Linked DNA regions of Homo sapiens: all the other regions are linked to region 2. The links are contacts of gene promoters, found by promoter capture Hi-C in blood cells and fetal thymus (Javierre and others, 2016). All regions are on one chromosome and are shown on one strand. The core of a region is centred on a gene start or on the middle of the fragment in contact, and the rest is flanking DNA. Distances in the headings are between cores, read along the strand shown.

Evidence for each region. Contacts are between HindIII fragments. The CHiCAGO score rates a contact against its expected background, and 5 or more counts as called.
Region 1: a fragment that was not itself captured here is called in contact with the fragment with the promoter of PANK2 in region 2 in 15 of 17 cell types (naive CD8 T cells, megakaryocytes, erythroblasts and 12 more); the score reaches 9.6 in naive CD8 T cells.
Region 3: a fragment that was not itself captured here is called in contact with the fragment with the promoter of PANK2 in region 2 in 1 of 17 cell types (erythroblasts); the score reaches 5.6 in erythroblasts.

What each region holds. Positions count from the first base shown.
Region 1 is chr20:4,087,920-4,091,623 of GRCh38, forward strand. No RefSeq gene overlaps it. Among named protein-coding and RNA genes, the nearest start is that of SMOX, 59 kb to the right of the region's middle. The HindIII fragment of the contact is 6,501 bases long and covers 1-3,704 here.
Region 2 is chr20:3,887,069-3,890,829 of GRCh38, forward strand. PANK2 (pantothenate kinase 2) reads left to right here and starts at 2,319. Exons shown (of 7, transcript NM_001386393.1): 1 at 2,319-2,660. The coding sequence starts at 2,363. PANK2-AS1 (PANK2 antisense RNA 1) reads right to left here and starts at 2,105. Exons shown (of 2, transcript XR_001754478.3): 1 at 1,671-2,105; 2 at 1-1,481. RefSeq lists an enhancer at 1,394-1,945 and silencers at 1,954-2,013, 2,204-2,703. The HindIII fragment of the contact is 15,092 bases long and covers 1-3,761 here.
Region 3 is chr20:3,753,838-3,757,141 of GRCh38, forward strand. It overlaps ADISSP (adipose secreted signaling protein), which reads right to left. Exons shown (of 6, transcript NM_001258429.2): 4 at 1,632-1,770; 5 at 560-682; 6 at 1-321. The coding sequence ends at 221. Among named protein-coding and RNA genes, the nearest start is that of ADISSP, 12 kb to the right of the region's middle. The HindIII fragment of the contact is 3,788 bases long and covers 1-3,144 here.

The DNA of each region.
Region 1 (3,704 bases), core at 405-2,904, 200 kb after region 2:
CGCTTGAACCTGGAAGGCAGAGGTTGCAGTGAGCCAAGATTGCACCCTTGCACTCCAGCCTGGGTGACAGAGTGAGACTCAGTCTCAAAAAAAAAAAAAAAAAGAAAAAGAAAAAGAAAAAGAAAACCAAAAAACAAAATGAGCAACTCCCATTTTAAATTGCCTGCCATGCTGAGTAGAGTGAATCATCCCTCTGTCCAGCACGTCCATGCTGCATATTCTTCCCGCTCATTAGTCACTTGGTAGCTGTCTTGGCTGTCAGATCAACTGCTGAGGTATCGCAGTGCTTATGTTCAGGTAACCCTTACTTCATTTAATAACGACCCCTGGATGCAAAAGTGGTGATGCTTAACATCATCACAACATAATTATTATTAACAATAATAACTGAGAATAAAATAGAACAGTTGTTATAATTGTTCTATTTTATTATCAGTTATTATTGTTAACCTCTTAACTGTGCTTAATTTATGCATTATACTTTATGGTGGATATGTACATATAGAAAAATCCATAGTATGTATAGGGTTTGGTACTATCTGCGGTTTCAGGCATCCACTGGGGGTCTTGAATGTATCCCCTGCAAATAAGGGGGGGGACTAGCGTTTCTGTCTTCACCAGGCCTAGATGTGTCTTGCCTGCCGAGGAAAGATGTATAGTTAAGATGTGACAATTATCTGTCAGTTGGTGGAGTTTCACCCACTTAGTTGGTCTTCTTACTGTATTTTGAGATATCTTTATTTACAGGAGGCAAAATAGAGGTCCTGGGTCAGTCCTCAGCCCTCCACCCCCAGCCTTTATGCCTAGGAGACTTTGAGTTGATGGGGAAAGATGGTTTCTGCCCTTGGGGGACCCACACAGGGTCCTTAGTATAGAGCCTGGCGCTCCACAGGGACCCGGTATTGAATATGGGATGGAGAGGAGCAAAGAGATCCTGCCAGGGAGGTTGTAGGAAGATCAATGGGTCACAGAAGCTACAGAAGGGCACACAGTAAGGCCGTGAGAGTGGGTAAAAAGGAGTGTGGGAGCTCTCACCTGCTCTGTGCTGGGATGTGGGTACTGGTCTCCTGGGAGTGAGCAGTTGGGCCCTCACCCAGTTGGAGGGCCCAACCACAACCACGGCAAATCCCAAAGGCCAGGAACAGGGACTAATGTGGGGTCCAGGGATAAAAGCAGATTTCTGAGATACAGAAAGCCCAGGGTCTGGCCTAAGGGGCAGCTGATATGCCCAAGAGCAAGTTCAAGGGCAGAGCAAGTTCGAGTGTACTGCAGACAGCCTTGGGACAGGGACATCCAATTTCATGGGCCAAGGAGAACAGTGGAAAGTCCAGGTAGTCAGGAGCCCTTGAAAGTCTAGAGGGTGGTGGGCTTGGTTGGGATGTGGATGGACATATATATATATGTATATACATATATACACACACACCATGGTGTGTGTCTGTGTGTGTATATATATATATGTGTATATATATATACACACACATACCTGATATGTTATACCTGACATATGTTATATACATACATACATATACATATATACACACACATATATATATCTGATGGTTTTATATATATAGGGAGGTGTGTGTTTGTGTGTGTGTGTGTATATATATATGTGTATATATATGTGTATATATATGTGTATATATATGTATATATATGTGTATATATATGTGTGTGTATATATGTATATATGTGTGTATATATGTATATATGTGTATATATGTATATATATGTGTATATATATGTGTATATATATGTATATATATGTGTGTATATATATGTATATATATGTGTGTATATATATGTGTATATATATGTGTGTGTGTGTGTGTGTGTGTGTATATATATATATATATATATATATCAGTTTGCCCTTGCTGGATAACAAACCACCCCAGAACTTACTGGCTTAATGCATTAACCATTTATTATTTCTCTAGGCTTTTGCAATCAGATGCTGGGTTGGCTGGAAGCTGGCTGGTATAGCGTGGCCATGCAGCAGGCTAGTCTAGGCTTAGTCACATAGTGATTGCAGGGTTTCAGGAAAACAAATGAAAACATGCAAGATCTTATAAGGTCTTTACTTGGAACTGACAGACTGTCACTTCTGCCAAACTCTTTTGGTCAAACAACTCTCAAAGCCAAGCCTCACTTGAAAGAGTTTGGGAAAAAGTTCTGATTCTTTTGTTTGTTTGCTTTAGAGACAGGGTCTTGCTCTGTCACCCAGACTGGAGTGCGGTGGCGTAATCATAGCTCACTACAGCCTCGAACTCCTGGGCTCAAGCAGTCCTCGCAGCTCAGCCTCCCGAGTAGCTGGGACTACAGATGTGAGCCACAGCACCTGGCAAAGTTCTGCTTCTTGATGAGAGATGTTACTAAATCATATTGCAAAGGGAGGGGTGGAGAATTGCGGCCATTTTTGCAATCAATCTAACGCAACACCCACTTGTGAAAGACAGAAACCTGGGTGACATCCTGAGTCCTTCCTCCCACTTCTCCGACATCCGTTACCTCACCAAGCCAATTTGATTTTCACCCCCCAAAACGCCATTCAACTTTTCCTATTGCCACCACCCCAGTCCAAGGAACTTGTCTACCTGGTCTACTCACATTTGCTGTAGCTGTGCTCTACTATCGTGGCCACATAGCAGCCTATAGGACTTCTTCAAAGTACAAGCCAGGTCCCATCATTTCTCCCTGCCCATACCCTTCAAAGACTCTGTATTAGTCCATTCGCAGTTGCAAGCAGAAGAAACAGGCTCTGATTATGGCAAAAAAAAACACAAAAAAACAAAAAACCTAATGGAAGGGTATTGATTAGCTCACAGAATATCTTGAAGACTGGACCCAGAAATCACGCAGGCACCAAAGGTAGCAGCTGGATAGCCAAGACCACGATGAAAACCATGCTGCTGGAACATCTGGGGGACACTGTGGCCATCACCACCATGTAGCCAGGCCCCAGGATGCTGCTGCTGCCACCACTGCCAGGATGAATAGTTCACTGTCCTTGGCTTCTTGTATCACTCACTACAGGCTCAAAGAGCTGGGTGGAAGCATCTGATTGGCTAAGCCTCCAGTTTCCATTTCATTTCTGTGCTGACTCGGTCAGTGGAGGATTCCTAGGAATTCCCAGGATGAGGAAAGATGCTGGAAATTCAGTTGTTCTCAACCTTTACTGTGTTTTGCAGGTTCCCAAAGCCACTGGGGGCTGGGTGGGTATCTTCTCTGGCACATGGCATTTCTGCTGTAATAAAGGTTCTTTTAGTTAAAAGTCACAAACCCCTTATGGTGTAAGTGATAAGGTGGTGGGGATGGGACCTTTGTTTTTGCAAAGCTGTAAAGAGGAAAAAGTTAGTCTGGGCCCCTGAAGGAAAAGACATGAATCATTAAGTGAAGAGCATGGCTGAATCCCTGCGTCATCAGGGAGAAACCAGAGGAGGCAAATGTGTAAGAAAGATTCCCCTGGGCCTGGGAAGGGGAGCCGACAGAGGATCCCAGCTGCAGGAGGTCGGGCCTCAGGACCCCTTAGAACTTCATGGACTGTCCCAGCCAATGTGAAAACCCTGGGCCATGTCTGTTCTTACCCGGGAAAGAGGAGGAGAGAGGCTGGCTGGGGTCAGCAGTAAACCGATAGGGGACTGAAATGGACACTGTGGGTGCCTCGCCCAGACCCCTTTGCAGGATAGGGTGCATCTGCG
Region 2 (3,761 bases), core at 1,069-3,568:
GGAGTAAGTGGGATTACAGGCACGCACCACTACGCCCAGCTAAGTTTTGTATTTTTAGTAGAGACAGGGTTTCACCATGTTGGGCCAGGCTGGTCTGAAACTCCTGACCTCCAGTGATCCGCCCGCCTCAGCCTCCCAAAGTGCTTGGATTACAGGCATGAGCCACTGTGCCTGGCCTAATTTTTTTTATTTTTTATTTTTTGTAGAAGTGGTCTCGAACTTGTGGTGTGCCTTCTTATTTATTTATTCATTTTTTTTTAGAGACGGAGTCTCACTGTCTCCCAGGCTGGAGTGCAGTGGCACGATCTCGGCTCACTGCAACCTCCGCCTACCGGATTCAAGTGACTCTCCTGCCTCAGCCTCCCAAGTAGCTGGGATTACAGGTGCCCACCACCACGCCCAACTAATTTTTGTGTTTGTTTTTTTTAGTAGAGACGGGGTTTCCCTGTGTTGGCCAGGCTGGTCTCGGACTCCTGACCTTGTGATTCGCACGCCTCGGCCTCCCAAAGTGCTGGGATTACAGGAGTTGAGCCACTGCGCCCGGCCGCTTTCTTTTGGTTATCATAAGGCGGGCAGTAGCTGAACTTCTCAGGAGTCCAAGCTCTGTCATTCTTTAGGCTTTGTGCTTCTGGATAAGTTACCTCATCATCCAAATGTTACTGCAAGGACTAAGTGAGATGTAGAGGCAGTGGGCAAATTGTGTAAAAATACTACTGTTTCAAGTGTTTTGATGTTGGAGTTCATCTTGCCAGCCAAGGGATGATGATACTTTGATTCTTCAGGATGATCAGAGCTCAGACTTGGACGGAAGCTCCCTCAGGTCAAGGAGGACCACATTTTTTGGGGGGTGGAGAGAGGAGGCAGAAAGAGAGGCAATGTCAGGCACTGAGATTTAGAAGAGTAGCTATAGCTGTTTTTGGTTCTTGTAGATCCGTCTGTGTTGGCTTCCTACAGGAGCTAGAATTTTCAGAGCTAGTCCTACAGTGAGGGGAGCTAACGTGGAGTGGGCGTGAGAATTCTATTCAGCAAGCACAAGCGAAGCTCAACCTTTTTGTTCAGCCTGCTACAACCAATCATTATGGGAGAGGGGAATAAGGATCACTGCCCAAGGGGCATTAGGATCACTGCCCAGTGGGCATTACAGTCTCCCCAGGGAGGCACTCTTTTTTATTTTTTATTTTTTTTGAGACGGAGTTTCGCTCTTGTTGCACAATGTTGGGTCACTGCAGCCTCCGCCACCCGGGTTCAAGCAATTTTCCTGCCTCAGCTTCCCAAGTAGCTGGGATTATAGGCATGGGCCACCACGCCCCGCTAATACGGAGGCACTTTTAATTAGCCCACAGTCCAGTGAAATTTGACGGAGTGAGGAAGTGACCTCAGAGTACAGAACGGGATGGGATCCTTCCGGGCTTGGGCAGCCTTTGGTAGTGGGGATGCTTGGAAGGGTCAGGGTCTCAGTCCTGGAGGTGACCAATTTTTCTCTCCAAAAGAGAAAGGAAGATGATTAAAAAAAAAATCCATGCTCCAAAGCGGCAGCCAAATCCTTCTATGGCCCCCAATGCATCACCCAGAAAGGGGCTCCAGACTCTCCTGCAAAAGGCCAACTCTACTTCCCGGCTCCCACTTCCCCTCCTTCGCCACAGGAGGGTGGCGAAGGATTTATAACCCACCTCTTTCTTTCAGTTGCCATGGAGACAAGCCCCAGTCCTTTCATTCCTTCTGGTACCTCTCTCTCCAACGCAGGCGGAAAGGAGGCGGCTTAGCCCAAACATGCTGGGGGAGGGGCTGGCGGCCTCGACGGCAGCTGCGGAACTAGGCCGAGGGACAAAGGCTAAGGTCAGCCGCGGTTCAAGCCCTTTCGTCTGCCGACGACCAGCGGCCAGACGCTGCGGGAGCACTGCTGGGCTGGAGGAGGGCTCGAGCTGCGAGGACGGCACGGAGCAGCGGGGTGGGACTCGGGGTCGCCCCAGGAGAGTTCCGCGGCCCGGGGGGGCAGAGGCATGCACAAGTGGGGGGCGGAAGGAGGGGGTGGATGAGGAGGCTCGGGCCCTTCCACCCACGCGTCCATTGGGCGGCGCCGCCATCACTCTCTTCTGGGCTACACCGCCTTCTCTTCCTCCGCGGAACCCGGATCCCCTCCTCCACCACCCTCTCCCCGCCCCGTCACGATAGCCTCTCATTGGACGGAGGCACGGTCAATCCTCCTCGAGTTAGGGAGCCGACTGGACGCGAGGCCTTTGGGCCGTCCCCAGCCTCGTCGGATTGGCTTCCTGCGCGTTGGCGCAACGGAAGAGGCGGCCGGCCGAGGGCGCGCCTCTGCTCTGGCTGGACTGCCGCGGAGGAGGCGAGAAGGAATCCGACGCTGGGGGGCTTGCTCGGGCGGCAGCGACTGCTGCTGCGGATGGGAGGGGGCCGGCTCGGCGCGCCCATGGAGCGCCACGGCAGGGCTTCCGCCACCTCCGTCTCGTCGGCTGGGGAGCAGGCGGCCGGGGACCCCGAAGGGCGGCGGCAGGAGCCACTGCGGCGCCGGGCGAGCAGCGCGTCGGTGCCCGCGGTCGGGGCCTCGGCTGAGGGCACGAGGCGGGATCGACTGGGCTCTTACAGCGGCCCCACCTCGGTCTCCCGCCAGCGCGTCGAAAGCCTGAGGAAAAAGCGGCCGCGTAAGTGTTCCGTGGGGCGCCCTCCCGGCCCGCCCTGCCCCCCCTTCCGGCCCACCCTGTCCCCTTCCGGCCCCGCCGCCGTTTTTCCCGCGCGCGGACACTGTCCCCGCACGGTGGTCCCTCGTTGGTGCGTGGCCTGACATCCGGCTGGAGGCCTCGGGTGCTCCGAAAGCGGTACCTTCGGGGGCCCCCCCGCACCCATTGGTATGCACTTCCCGCTTGTTGGAGTGGAGGGCTTTTCCCCAGGACCTGTCCTCCCTTTTCTTAGCTCCTTGGGCATTCTCTTCCTGAGGGTCACATGATTTTATCCTCGAGAAGGCTTCTTTTGACTCATTTCCACCTCCTTTCCTCCCAAATCCTTTGAATCCCCAATGTTTGTTTTCCGTGGGTTTCCAAAGAGCTGCTCTCTAATACTTTAAGTCCCTTTTATTCGTCAATTTCGGGCTTACTGGAAAATGGTGAACTGCCCCTTGAGTTGCACCAGGCCTGAAACTGTATTCCGTGCACCTCTAAGGTGGCTGCCCTTCTTCTCGTGAGAATCCAGGTCATCTCTCACCCACATATCCCCTCCGTTTTCCTTCTGTCTATTTGCAGGTACTCACGATTCAGAACTGTGGCATTCTGGGCATTAAGGCTCTTTGTTTTGAGGGGAAACAACATCTTTCTGAATTTTGCCTTGGGAGTTGCATACGCTCCTCCCAGAGAATCCGTTTCCCCATTTTATTAGGTTTCTTTTTCTGTGTTGTGTATTTTCTCCCCTTTACAAGTCTTCAATTCAGGACCGCTGCCTGGCAGCCATTGCTGCTGTTGAAAGTATCAATTGTCCTGATACTGTAATATGAGCTTTACAGTGTGATGCCATTTTACATATGGTTGGACTTTTTGGTGGGTGTTGCCAGATTCCTATTTCAGGAAATTGACTTGTTTAAATGCAGATTGTGAGAGGGAGGGAAAATGGCAAGATGTGAGATTTTTATTGAATAGTCTTCTACCTTAGCCCAGTCACCCAACTGCTTTTTTGAATCTTCTCTGATATGGATGATTAAATGTAGTTCTATTTTGCTGTGAAAAGTTTGGGAGTTTTCAGTTCTTTTGTCTTTT
Region 3 (3,304 bases), core at 1-2,500, 130 kb before region 2:
GGAGACTGAGGCACACAGAGAGGAGGAAGTGGGAGAGGAGGACGAGGGAGGGGCAGGGTGGCAGCACAAATGAAGGCAGAGGTGAGAGGCGTGGGCAAGGCCACTCCACCCCCACACCCACCCCAGAGAGGGGCGAGGAAGCCACACCATCACGCAGCATGTCGGGGGGACAAGGCGGGGTTTAAGGCTGAGGGGCCCGGGGCAGGCGGGGCCTCGGGCCTCAGTCAAAGCCGTGCCAGTCGCTGTGCTCTGAGTCGTATTCCAGCTCGGCGCCCACACACTTGACACCATCCAGCAGCATGGGCGTGCCGTGGTGCCGGTCTGCAAGGCAGGGTGCAAGTCAGTGCCATGCTGGCCCCCGGCCCCACCCATGCGGCCCACTAAGGGGACCCCTCCCCTTCCCTCAGGGATCAGCTGGAGGTAGGGACCTGCCAAGGAGGTTGAGAACCCCTGAGCCGGGCAAGGATCCCTTGTTCAGCCTTGGTTCCCTGAGGAGGACAGAAACCCTCGCAGTCGAGCTTGTGCATCCCTCCTCCAACCAGGAGCCTCACGCTCTCACCCATGACGCGGGCCTGCACCGTCACGCGCACACAGGTGCCAGTGCCACCTTCGCAGGCTAGCAGTATCTCCTCTTTGAGGACGCCCTCTTTGTGCGCCGAGTACTCACACTTGACACTATAACCTGCCCGGGGACAGGGGCAATTGGTCAGCACCTCCCCCAGCCTCCCCGATCCTGCCCCTGGCACTCACGGGCCCCTACCCACCACCATGGGGGGACTGCATGCTAAGCCCCCCCAAGAAAGGGGCAGGGATGGCCCTTCTGGAGCCCAGAGACCCATTCCCCCTAGCAGGGGTGCACAGGTCTCAAAAACCCATTCTTCAGTGAGCTGGACATGCCTCCAGCCTGTGGGCCACCCCAATGTGGCTCCAAGAGTGAATGAAGTAGGGTCCAATTCAGGCTTCCAAAAGAAGGTCTGGCTGTTTTCTCCCAAAAGGAAGGCAGGGAGAGGCGGTGATGAGGAGTGAGGGGGGCAGGGCAGGGTAGGCTTTGAGCAGATCCGATGGCAAGAGGTAAAGGCCTGAGGGGTGTCAATCCATTGAAGGGCAAGGTCATGAAGAGGCTGGTGACGGGGACATGAAACTGAAGCTGGAGCTCCACGAAACTGACACCCTAGCCTCTGCCAGGCTGGGAGTGGGGCATGGGGCAGGGCCTGAAGTGAGCCTGATAGGAACAGCAGCCTGAAACCCAAGGTCTGGGACTGGTGGGTGCTAGGAGTTATCCACACGGTGTGTGTAGCTCCAGCAGGTTTTTCTAGAGGGTTAGGGAGGCAGGAGGGAAGGCTGGAGGCTTCAAACCAGTTCCTCAGCAGCTCCCATCTTGGTTACTGCCCCACGGAGGTAACCATCACACCATGGGCAGGTACAGGGAAGTATGAGCTCATGGACTTCTGTTCAGGACAGGGAGCAAGGCCTGGAGTGTGGGACCTGCCATGCTGCCACAGTGCAAGCTCACAAAGAGGTGCCACATCCCCGACTTGCTGAGCTGCCCATCCACCCTAGTTGGAAGTAAGGGAGCACCCCATGTTCTCACTCCCACACCCATCCAGGCCCTGCTGGAGGAGGGGACGCACCTTCAGGGACGGGCACCACGCTGAGGAGCTTGAGGTGCAGGCTGGGGACAGGTGCCTCGCGGACATCCTTGCTCAGCCTGTGCACTGGGGGCAGAGTGAAGGTAATCTCATACCTGTGCAGGATCTTCAGGAAGCCAACCTACAGCAGGAGAGGTGAGGGAGGGAGGCACCTTCACTTCCTGCTTCCCGCAGGCCCACCCAGTTGTGCCACCTATGATCCCATGCGCCCCAGCACCTGCTTCCCCAGAGAGCCCAGAAAGCCCAACTCCCTCCATCACTCCAGCTGATCGACCCCCAGCCCAGTGGCCCCAGCCCTTTCACAGACCCCTTGAGGGTCCCAGCCCTACAGCTTGGCCAGCAAGATCCTCAGCATCTGTCTCACGGGCCCCAAAGTCCTCAGTGGCTCATTTCATAGACAGGAAAATGGAAACCACAAAATGACTGGCCAAAGGCTATGTAGTGTGGCCAGGGTCAAGTCCTCCCTAGACTTCTTGGCCATTCCTGCTATGCATGGCACCCAGCAAGGCACCACCCACTGCCTACAAGGGAAAGTTCAAAGTCCCATGGGTCATTCACCTGTCCCCATCACTGCCAGTATCCCAGGGTCAGGGATGCTGGTCCTCCATTCGCTCATAGGATGACACCAGGCCACAGATAGCGTGGGATGAGGGATGGGATCAAATTAGAGATATGACAGTAGACCAGCTGTGTCAGCCCAGAGCTGGCCCACAGGCCTGGCACCAGCCACTGAACTGGGGCTCCTGGCTGCCCTGCTGGCACTGGACTGGGGATGCCTGCCTGCCCACTCAAAGGCTGTGTCCAATGGCCCATACTCACGACCCAAGCAATTTCTGTTGTTCATTCACAGTGCTTGGTGACAACCACCCTCTGGGACAAATGCCATTCTTGGAAACTCCAGTAGTATGAAGGGTCACAAGCCAGGGTGGTTGCTGAGCAGGGGGGCTGGTGGGGGTGCCACGCCAGCAGGCAAAGGGTGCCTGCTGTACTCCCAGCTTGCATGGGCACACAGAGTCCTGCTCACAGTTACTGGGGCTGGGCAGCCCCATCCCTGGGGGCCAACTGGGACTGGCTGCAGAGAGTTTTAGCCATTCAATGGGACCAGGTTGATATTGCTACATGACAAACTTCAATCCATGTGCCCCCCTCATGCTCTGCTGGTAGGGGGCACATCCCTCAAGAAGGCTTTCTGGCTGTACCTGCTAACTGTGACCCTGTGACCCAGGGGTACTACTTATAGAATTTTCCAGGGGAAATAGAGATGTGCAGAAAAATACTCTTCGCTGCCCTATTTATAACAATGAAAACAAAAACAGCCGTAACACCCAGGAACAGGGAGCCAGCTAAGTCAATGATGACACGTATCATGGACCAGTAGGCAGTTGTAAAATCTCGTGGAAAATTATTTACTGACACAGGTAGGAGACAGTTCACAACAGAAGCAAGCAAAAACCAGTGTGGACACGGTGAGGCCAGCTTTTGTTTTTGGAAACAAAGCTTTTTAAAATAAGCTGGATCCATCACCATAGTGTTTTCAGAAAAATAAATAAATAAATAAATAACATTTTAAAAAGCTGGAATAAGCCAGGTGTGGTGGCTCACGCCTGTAATCCCAGCACTTTGGGAGGCCGACACGGACGGATCACGAGGTCAGG